Regions from separate parts of the Homo sapiens genome. Here all the other regions are linked to region 1. Evidence: promoter capture Hi-C in human tissues and cell types (Jung and others, 2019). All regions are on one chromosome and are shown on one strand. Each heading gives the region's core, a stretch centred on a gene start or on the middle of the fragment in contact. The rest is flanking DNA. Distances are from core to core; before and after follow the strand shown. Region 1 holds the start of TAF1L (TATA-box binding protein associated factor 1 like). Region 2 has its middle 100 kb from the start of APTX. Region 3 has its middle 150 kb from the start of ACO1.

Region 1 (3,440 bases), core at 636-3,135:
GATAGTATTTAAAAATAGAATGATAAATAATAACACTTTAAATATGATTACTTATAGAGGATTACATAAACAACCACCCAAGATAATCTGCAATCAAATTGTGAAAATCATTAAGACAGTTGACTAGACTAGTCCCAGCTACTTGGGGAGGCTGAGGCAGAAGAATCACTTGAACCTGGAGACAGAGGTTGCAGTGAGCCAAGATCGCGCCACTGCACTCCAGCCTGGGCAACAGAGCAAGACTGTCTCAAAAAAAAAAAAAAAGCATAAAGGAAAAATTTGATAAGATTGAAATTTTAAAATATATATTAAAGACACCATTAAAATAGATTAAAAGACATGTCACAGACTGGGGAAGTTATTTGCAAGCAAATCCATAATATATGAAGAACTGTTATACATTAAAGAAAAGACAGATAACCTAAAGATACTATAAAAATTAGATAAAAATATATGAAAAGGCAATTGACAGAAGAGGAAAAACAGTTGGTCAATAAGTGTATGAAAAGTTAGCCTTCAGTAGCAATCAGAAAAATACAAATTAAAACCACATTATCATTATACATTTATTAGAAATGAACAAAAATTAACAAATGACAATGCTAAGTGTTAGAATGGATGTGGAGAGGTGAGAACTTTTATACACTGCTGTTAGGTATGTAAAATGGTACAACTACTTTGGAGAACAATTTAGTAATAGCAAGTGTAGTTGAAAAAGCATATATTGTAAAATCTAGTAATTCCACTCCTAGATGTATACCCTGGAGAATGTGTCCTACATATGCTCAAGGAATCATATACATTATTTATAAGAGGAACAATTTGGGAACAATTTAAATGAACAAACATAGGAACATAGATAAATTGTAGCATAACCATACTGTAGAACACTATAGAGCTATAAAAATAGAATTGAATGCATCAACATAGTTGAATATCATAAACATAAATTTTATCCAGAAAACATTCTGGCTAAGAGTACATACAGTAAGGTCGGGTTTGGTGGCTCTTGCCTGTAATCTCAGCACTTTGGGAGGCCAAAGTGGGAGGATTGCTTGAGGCCAGGAGGAGTTTAAGACCAGCTTGGCTAACATAGTGAGATCCCATCTCTTAAAAAAAAGGAAGGGGGAAAAAAAAAACGAGTACACACAGTAAGATGCCTTTTATACAAAATTGTAAAGCATGACAATGCTATAGATTATTTGGAGAAGCATACATATGCAGTTCATGTATAAAGAGATTTACAGAGGCTGGGTGCAGTGGCTCACGCCTGTAATCCCAGCACTTTCGGAGACAGAGACGGGCTGACCATCTGAGGTCAGGAGTTTAAGACTAGCCTGGCCAATATGGTGAAATCTTGTCTCCACTAAAAATACAAAAAATTAGCCAGGCATGGTGGCTCATGCCTGTAATCCCAGCTACTGTGGAGGCTGAGGCAGGAATCTCTTGAACTCCTGAGGTGGAGGTTTCAGTGAGCCGAGATTGTGCCACTGCACGCCAGCCTGGGGCGACAGAGCAAGACTTTGTCTCAAAAACCAGCAAACAGGCTGGGCGCGGTGGCTTACGCCTGTAATCCCAGCACTTTGGGAGGCCGAGGCAGGCGGTTCACGAGGTCAGGAGATCGAGAGGCTAACATGGTGAAACCCCGTCTCTACTGAAAATACAAAAAAAAAAAAATTAGCCAGGCGTGGTGGCGAGCGCCTGTAGTCCCAGCTACTCAGGAGGCTGAGGCAGGAGAATGGCGTGAACCCAGAAGGCAGAGCTTGCAGTGAGCCAAGATCGCGCCACTGCACTCCAGCCTGGGCGACGTTGCGAGACTCCGTCTCAAAAAAAAAAAAAAAAAAAAGTTTTGCGGGTTTTTCCCCCCGCCCCTTTGCCCCCTCCCCCCGCCTTTATTCAGCTTCCGGTAGACGCTGGTAGGGTAAGGGAGCTAAGTAGATCACTTCCGGGCGACTGTTGTTTTATTTCCGGTTTATGCGACCCGGCTGCGATTTGCTGCTGAGGGCAGCAGCTACCGTCACTGCCGCCATCATGTCAGACTCGGACAGCGAGGAAGATTCATCTGGAGGTGGCCCATTTACTTTAGCGGGTATCCTTTTCGGCAACATCAGTGGAGCGGGGCAGCTGGAGGGGGAAAGCGTCTTGGATGATGAGTGTAAGAAGCACTTGGCAGGCTTGGGGGCTTTGGGGCTGGGCAGCCTAATCACTGAACTCACGGCAAATGAAGAATTGACTGGGACTGGCGGTGCCTTGGTAAATGATGAAGGGTGGATTAGGAGTACAGAAGATGCTGTAGACTATTCAGACATCAATGAGGTGGCAGAAGATGAAAGCCAAAGACACCAGCAGACGATGGGGAGCTTGCAGCCCCTTTACCACTCGGATTATGATGAAGATGACTATGATGCTGATTGTGAAGACATTGATTGCAAGTTGATGCCTCCTCCACCTCCACCCCCGGGACCAATGAAGAAGGATAAGGACCAAGATGCTATTACCTGTGTGTCTGAAAGTGGAGAAGACATCATCTTGCCCTCCATCATTGCCCCTTCCTTTTTGGCCTCAGAGAAAGTGGATTTCAGTAGTTACTCTGATTCAGAATCTGAGATGGGACCTCAGGAAGCAACACAGGCAGAATCTGAGGATGGAAAGCTGACCCTTCCATTGGCTGGGATTATGCAGCATGATGCCACCAAGCTGTTGCCAAGTGTCACCGAACTTTTTCCAGAATTTCGACCTGGAAAAGTGTTACGCTTCCTACATCTTTTTGGACCAGGGAAGAATGTCCCATCTGTTTGGCGGAGTGCTCGGAGAAAGAGGAAGAAGCATCGTGAGCTGATACAGGAAGAGCAGATCCAGGAGGTGGAATGCTCAGTAGAATCAGAAGTCAGCCAGAAGTCTTTGTGGAACTATGACTATGCTCCACCACCACCCCCAGAGCAGTGTCTCGCTGATGATGAAATCACGATGATGGTTCCTGTGGAGTCCAAATTTTCCCAATCAACTGGAGATGTAGATAAAGTGACAGATACCAAACCAAGAGTGGCTGAGTGGCGTTATGGGCCTGCCCGACTGTGGTATGATATGCTGGGTGTCTCCGAAGATGGCAGTGGGTTTGACTATGGCTTCAAACTGAGAAAGACACAACATGAACCTGTGATAAAATCTAGAATGATGGAGGAATTTAGGAAACTTGAGGAAAGCAATGGCACTGATCTTCTGGCTGACGAAAACTTCCTGATGGTGACACAGCTGCATTGGGAGGATTCTATCATCTGGGATGGGGAGGATATCAAACACAAAGGGACAAAACCTCAGGGTGCAAGCCTGGCAGGCTGGCTTCCTTCTATTAAGACTAGGAATGTAATGGCTTACAATGTTCAGCAAGGTTTTGCACCCACTCTGGATGATGACAAACCTTGGTACTCCATTTTTCCCAT
Region 2 (3,398 bases), core at 489-2,988, 260 kb before region 1:
GATGAGGTTTCACCATCTTGGCCAGGTTGGTCTTGAACTCCTGCTCTCAGGTGATCTGCCTGCCTCCGCCTCCCAAAGTGCTGGGATTACAGGTGTGAGCCACTGCGCCCAGCTCCCAAAGTTGCAATTCTAATGTATACACAAGTTTCTATACTTCTATATATGGAAGTATAGAACTTCTATATATACTTCCATATATAGAAGTATAGAACTTCTATATATACTTCCATATGTGGAAGTATAGAACTTCTATATATACTTCCATATGTGGAAGTATAGAACTTCTATATATACTTCCATATGTGGAAGTATAGAACTTCTATATATACTTCCATATGTGGAAGTATAGAACTTCTATATATACTTCCATATGTGGAAGTATAGAACTTCTATATATACTTCCATATGTGGAAGTATAGAACTTCTATATATACTTCCATATGTGGAAGTATAGAACTTCTATATATACTTCCATATGTGGAAGTATAGAACTTCTATATATACTTCCATATGTGGAAGTATAGAACTTCTATATATACTTCCATATGTGGAAGTATAGAACTTCTATATATACTTCCATATGTGGAAGTATAGAACTTCTATATATACTTCCATATGTGGAAGTATAGAACTTCTATATATACTTCCATATGTGGAAGTATAGAACTTCTATATATACTTCCATATGTGGAAGTATAGAACTTCTATATATACTTCTATATCACTAAAATGATGTAAAATAATATACATCATTTTAGTGATGTATAATATAGCACTCAATCGAAACAGTAGTTTACTTATCAGTTTCTCAATTCTTAGACATTTGGATTGTTTCTAGTTATTTGTTTTTATAAACAACATGGATATCTTTTGACAATAGATATATTTGGACATAGGGTTTTTTTTTTTCTATTTTGCATTTCTTCTTTAGAAATTCCACTTCTTTTGAAATTCCAAATAGCTAGTAATTCCCACTGGCTGAATTACTGTCAAGGGGCATGCTAAGTTTTGTGCAGAAACTTAGAATATATCTTATTGATGGCAGTAGGATCTCTTAAAGAGAATTTGTATCTGGAGCCACTCTTCTTATTTTAACCTTTTCCAAGATCCCTGATGGATTACAAATACTTCTGTTGTCTTTGAGAAAGTCATCTATCTAGTTCATAGCTAGTGTATTTTACCTAATACATTTGAAGGATTGGTCTGATGAAAGACAAAGATAAAGATGGGACTAGACAAAGAGTGTCTAAGACTCATATGAGGAATTCGTGGAGTGCCTGAGGCTGCTTTATGTCCTCAGTGATCCCTCATGTATTGGTGAAGGGAAGTGTGAACCCAAGTAAGTGGGTGCAGAGAAGCAGGTCTGTGGCACTGTCCAGGGAGGAACCCTGGGCGTGGAGACTGAACTACTGCAGCTGTGGGTCTTGTTTGAGGAACCAGATCTCAGGTTTTTCTAGAGTTTAGGGGAATGTCTCTCCTCAGCCCATTATATTTCCTTTGTTCTGAATAATCTTCTGATTGGCTCCTCTGGTATCTTGATACGATGATGGTGCCACCATGTAACTCACTGTATATGCGTTGTGATTCCAGCTATAAGGAGGCTATTCTACAAGAATATATACCTCTCTCTATACATTGTGAGCTTACTTCACTTCCAATGCCATCTTGCTGTCTTATTTTTATTTGTTATTTGCCTCTTCTGTTTTTAAATTTTTGATTTATTTTCTCTGATAACTTGCCCACATATTTCTAAGTGGCCTTAAATTTGCTGTGGAATAAGGTGTGGTTTGGATGCAGGATGAATAGATTGGCTTTCTAGTTTTAGGAATTGGTTTGGCTCATTTAGTATGAGTTTGTCATAGAAAGGCTACTCTTCTTGGGTCTAGTGCTGTCAGACCTGACTGAGTCAAGACCAGAGAGTAGATCCTGATGATTCAGCCCCAGTGCTGTCTTGGAGGACCTGTCATTAAAACACCAGCTGCCCTGAGTCACTCCACTTCCCCATTTTGTGCCCCTTCAAAAAGGCAAACACAGAGTTAGATAATATTTATGAAAGAGTTAAAAGCTCAGTTAATAGTAAAGCATACTTACTGCGTTTGTCTTTTCTGTGTCCTTATACCTTTTCCTTCTCTACTTTCAACCTACAGAAATTTTAGTTTTGATCAAAGGAGAAAAGTGAGTTTAGCTTTTAGCCTGGATTATTCTGCTGACTAAATGTTATAATTTAATGATTTAGAATTTTGGAACTAAACGCTTTCAATAGTTAGTAACTCATAATATTGAGCTTCCTAACATCTTTTTTTTAAATGAATATGTCTCTTCTTTCCTGAGTATGAACTCTACGCCCTCGCAGTATTGAGACCAAGTCTTTGCACAAAGCAGGAACTCAACACATGTGTGCTGAATTGAATACTCTCACCTCCAAACAGGGTTGAGAAAGCAAGATTTCTTGTCATCCTATCTTAAGAAACAGAAAGCAATGCTGCTAATAACATATATGTAGGATTGATACCCTTTACCAGAGACCCCTCTCACTCAGGGATGGCAAGGAAAGACTGGCCTACTAGAGGTGGTGTTCCAGTTTCTGATTTAAATTTCATTTGTAGTCAGAGGAGCTTTGTTTATTTTAAGATTAAAAAGTATTTGTATGAAGGGTGTCATACAGTTAGTGCTAATTTTTTAATTTAGGAAATGTCATTTCTATTCAGCTACTTGAAATTAAATTTCAAATCTTTGAAACGGTGAGAAACATCCCAAAATATTTCATGTAAGGTGAGAATAAGAGCCAAAGCTTGTAGCTATGGCCAAGAACCTCTGATTTGAGGTAAACATGTGATTCCTTTGGAAATCCATTCTAACACTCCAGTACATTTTCTTAATCCCCTCCAGTGAATCAGATGATTTTGAGAGTGTAGGTAGGCTGAGCCATTTTAGCATTTAAAACTAATAACTAGACTTTGGGTATCCAGCTCATCATTACTGTGATATCACTTGAGAACAAAAGAGAGAAAAGGGTTTTTTTTAAAGGGCAAATTCCATCTGGTCGCATTAGATCATAGGACTAGGAAGCTAAATAACCCATTTTCAGAGCTCTTCAGAGTGATTACAGGATGTTTGCTGCAGAGTAGCCCTGATAAAGAGAAAGGATTTAAATAATTCCACCAGTGATCATTTTTTCTCACTTTTTTTTGCTCTGTACTTTCTTGTCATGATAATTGATACTTTCTCACATGTTAATGTAACAGCTGTCTCTACTGATAATAAAACAGCTTCTTTCTTTTGCAAAGGGGACAAGTGGGAAATGTGCCTCCTAGATTCCTGACGATGGACAAATGTTCACTCACATCTTGTTTGCTACTGGCAAAATGACCCATTGAAACTGAACTTCTAAGGTTTGA
Region 3 (3,183 bases), core at 234-2,733, 400 kb after region 1:
ATAAAAGTTGAAATTAAAAAAATGAGTGAATAGATTAAGTAGTCACCTAAATAAAACAGGTCTATATGTTCATCTGAAAGAAAAAGACAAGGCATCTTGGCAAACTATTTATATATATATATTGTGTGTGTTAATTAAACGTTTTATTGTGAAATAATGGTAGGTTCACATTCAGTTGTGAGATATAATACAGAGAGACCTTGTATATACTTTACCCATTATCCCCCTGGTAATACCTTGCAAAACTATGATACAATAGTTTTGAACAACATTATAATCTGCATGTGGACATTGATACAGTCAAGATAGATACAGAGCATTTCCATCACCACAACAAATCCCCCATGTTGTCCTTTTATAGCCATTTCCCTTCCACTTAAATACCTTCCTTAGCTCCTGTCAATTACTAAGCTAGTCTCCCTTTCTTTGTCACATCAAGAATCTTATAGAATGGAATCATACAGTATATAACTTTTTGGATTTGTTTTCTCACTTAGCAAAATTCTCTGGAGATTCACTCAAATTGTATGCATTGGTAGTTTGTTCCTTTTTATTTCTGTGTAGTATTACATGATATGGATATACCACAGTTTTTAAATCATTTACCCATTGAAGGACATCTGGGTTGTTTCCAGTTTTTTGCAATTACAAATAAAGCTGCAATAAAAATCCATGTAGATTTCTTTTTGTGTAAGCATAAGTCTTCATTTCTCTGGGATAGCAGTGCAGTCCCTGGGTCATATGAACATTGCATGTGCAGTTCTTTTAAGAAACTGCCAAACTGTTTTCCAGAGAGGCTGTACCATTTTATCTTCACACTAGCAATGTATATGTGATCCTGTTTGATACGGTTTAGCTGTGTCCCCACCCAAATATCACCTTGAATTGTAACTCCCACAATTTGCCACGTGTTGTAATAGGGACCTGGTGGGAGGTAACTGAATCATGGGGGCGGGTCTTTTCTGTACTATTCTCATGATAGTGAATAAGTCTCATGAGATCTGATGGTTTTATAAAGAGGAGTTTCCCTGCAAAGTGAAACTTTCTTTCTTTTGTAAATTGCCCAGTCTTGGTAATTTCTTTATCAGCAGCGTGAAAACGAACTAATACACAGTTTCTTCACATTCTCACAAGCATTTGATATTGTCACTATTTTCATTTTAGCTATTCTGATAGGCATACAGTACTCATCACATTCCTAATTTCCTTAATGGCTAATGATGTGAAACATATTTTCATATGTTGGTTTGCCATCTGTATATCTTCTTTGATGAAATGTCTGTGTGTTTTTTTCTTTACTGTTGAGATTTGAGAGTTAATTACATACTTGCCTTTTGTCAAATATGTGGTTTGAAAATATTTTCTCCAAGGTTGTAATTTGTCTTTTTATTCTTTTAATGGAGTCTTTTGCAGAGCAAAAGTTTTTCATGTTGATGGAGTCTAATTCATGAAGCTTTTTTAAAAAATCATGTTTTTAATGTCAAGTATAAGAACCCTTGCCTAGGCCTATAACCTGAAGATTTTTTTCCTATATTTTTCTTAAAATTTTACGTTTTATAATTTACATCTAACTCTATAACCCATTTGGATTAATTTTTGTATATGTTTCTTTTTTTGTTTTGCTTATGGATGTCTAGTTTCTGAACACCATTTATTCAGCAGGCTATCTTCATTGAATTGCTTTTGTACTTTTGTCAAAAACCAGTTGAGCATATTTAAGAGTCTATTTCTGGGTTTTCTGTTCTGTTCTATTGTGCTTATCACTCAGGCAATATCACAGAACTGATTACTGTAGCTATACGATAAATCTTGAAGTTTGGTAGATGATTTTTTACATTTTATTTTTCTCTTTCAAAATTGTTTTACTATTCTAGTTCCTTTTACTTTTCATATAAATTTTAGAATAATCTTCTCTCTATATAAAAGGATATTGCTGGGATTTTGATATAAATTGTGTTAAACCTATACATCAGTTTGAGGAGAATTGATATCTTTATAGATTTAGTCTTTTGATCTGTGAGTACAGTACATCTTTCCATTTATTTAGATCTCTCTCTCTCCTTTCCTCTCTGGCCTTCCTTCCCTCCCTCTCTCCCTTTCTTCCTTCCTTTTCTTTTTTCCTATCCTTTCCTTCACTCTCTCCTTCTTCCTCTTCTTTTTCTTTAGTTTTGCAGTTTTTAGCATACATGTCCTGTACATGTTTTGCTAGATTTGCACCTAAATATTTATTTTTTGAGCAATTATAAATGGTGTTGAATTATTAATTTTGTTCACATGTTCATTGCTAGTATGTAGAAACAGAACTTATTTTGTATGTTTTCTTGTATTCTGTGACCTTGCTGAAGTCATTTATTTTATGAGGTTTTTTTTTTGATAGATTCCTTGCCATTTTCTAAGTTGACAATCATGTAATCTTCAAACACTTTTATTTACTCCTTTGTGATATATGTGTCTTTTGCTTCTTTTTCTTGCCTGTTGCTCTAGCTAGAACTTCCAGTACTATGCTCAACAAAACATCCTTGCATTGTTCCAATCTTCTAGGGAAAGTATTCAATATTAAGTATAATATTAACTGCAGATTGTGTTATAGATACTGTTCATCAAGTTGAAGACATTCTATTTTTTTTTTTTTTTTTTGAGACCGAGTCTCACTCTGTCACCCAGGCTGGAGTGCAGTGGCACGATCTTGGCTCACTGCAGGCTCTGCCTCCCAGGTTCAACCAATTCTCGTGCCTCACCCTCCCAAACAGCTGGGATTACAGGCGTGCACCACCATGCCTAATTTTTGTATTTTTAGTAGAGACGGGGTTTCGGCATGTTGGCCAGTCTTGTCTCGAACTCCTGGCCTAAGTGATCCATTTGTCTCGGCCTCCCAAAGTGCTGGGATTACAGGAGTAAGCCATCACACCTGGTCTCCCCTCTATTCTTAATTTTCTGAAAAAAAAAATTAAAGTCATCGATAGGTGTTGAATTATGTCACTGCTTTTTCTGCATTGATTTTTGTGATTTTTTTTTGTTCTTCTGTAGTCTGCTAATATAATGGGTTACACTGATTGCACTTCATGTATTGAAGCCTTCCAGAAATAATTACCACTTGGTGATGATGTATAACTCTGTTTTGTATATTGATGAATTCTATGTGCTAATATTATGTTGGGCTAGGTATGGTGTGTACCTGTAGTG

The links. Contacts are between HindIII fragments. The study calls those that stand out against the background at their distance.
Region 2: a contact is called between a fragment that was not itself captured here and the fragment with the promoter of TAF1L in region 1, in 3 of the 25 tissues and cell types used here (dorsolateral prefrontal cortex, lymphoblastoid cells and small bowel).
Region 3: a fragment that was not itself captured here is called in contact with the fragment with the promoter of TAF1L in region 1 in 2 of the 25 tissues and cell types used here (mesendoderm cells and pancreas).

What each region holds. Positions count from the first base shown.
Region 1 is chr9:32,634,114-32,637,553 of GRCh38, reverse strand. It overlaps TAF1L (TATA-box binding protein associated factor 1 like), which reads left to right and starts at 1,885. Exons shown (of 1, transcript NM_153809.2): 1 at 1,885-3,440. The coding sequence starts at 1,975. The HindIII fragment of the contact is 9,470 bases long and covers 1-3,440 here.
Region 2 is chr9:32,897,936-32,901,333 of GRCh38, reverse strand. No RefSeq gene overlaps it. Among named protein-coding and RNA genes, the nearest start is that of APTX, 100 kb to the left of the region's middle. The HindIII fragment of the contact is 8,795 bases long and covers 1-3,398 here.
Region 3 is chr9:32,235,499-32,238,681 of GRCh38, reverse strand. No RefSeq gene overlaps it. Among named protein-coding and RNA genes, the nearest start is that of ACO1, 150 kb to the left of the region's middle. The HindIII fragment of the contact is 7,110 bases long and covers 1-3,183 here.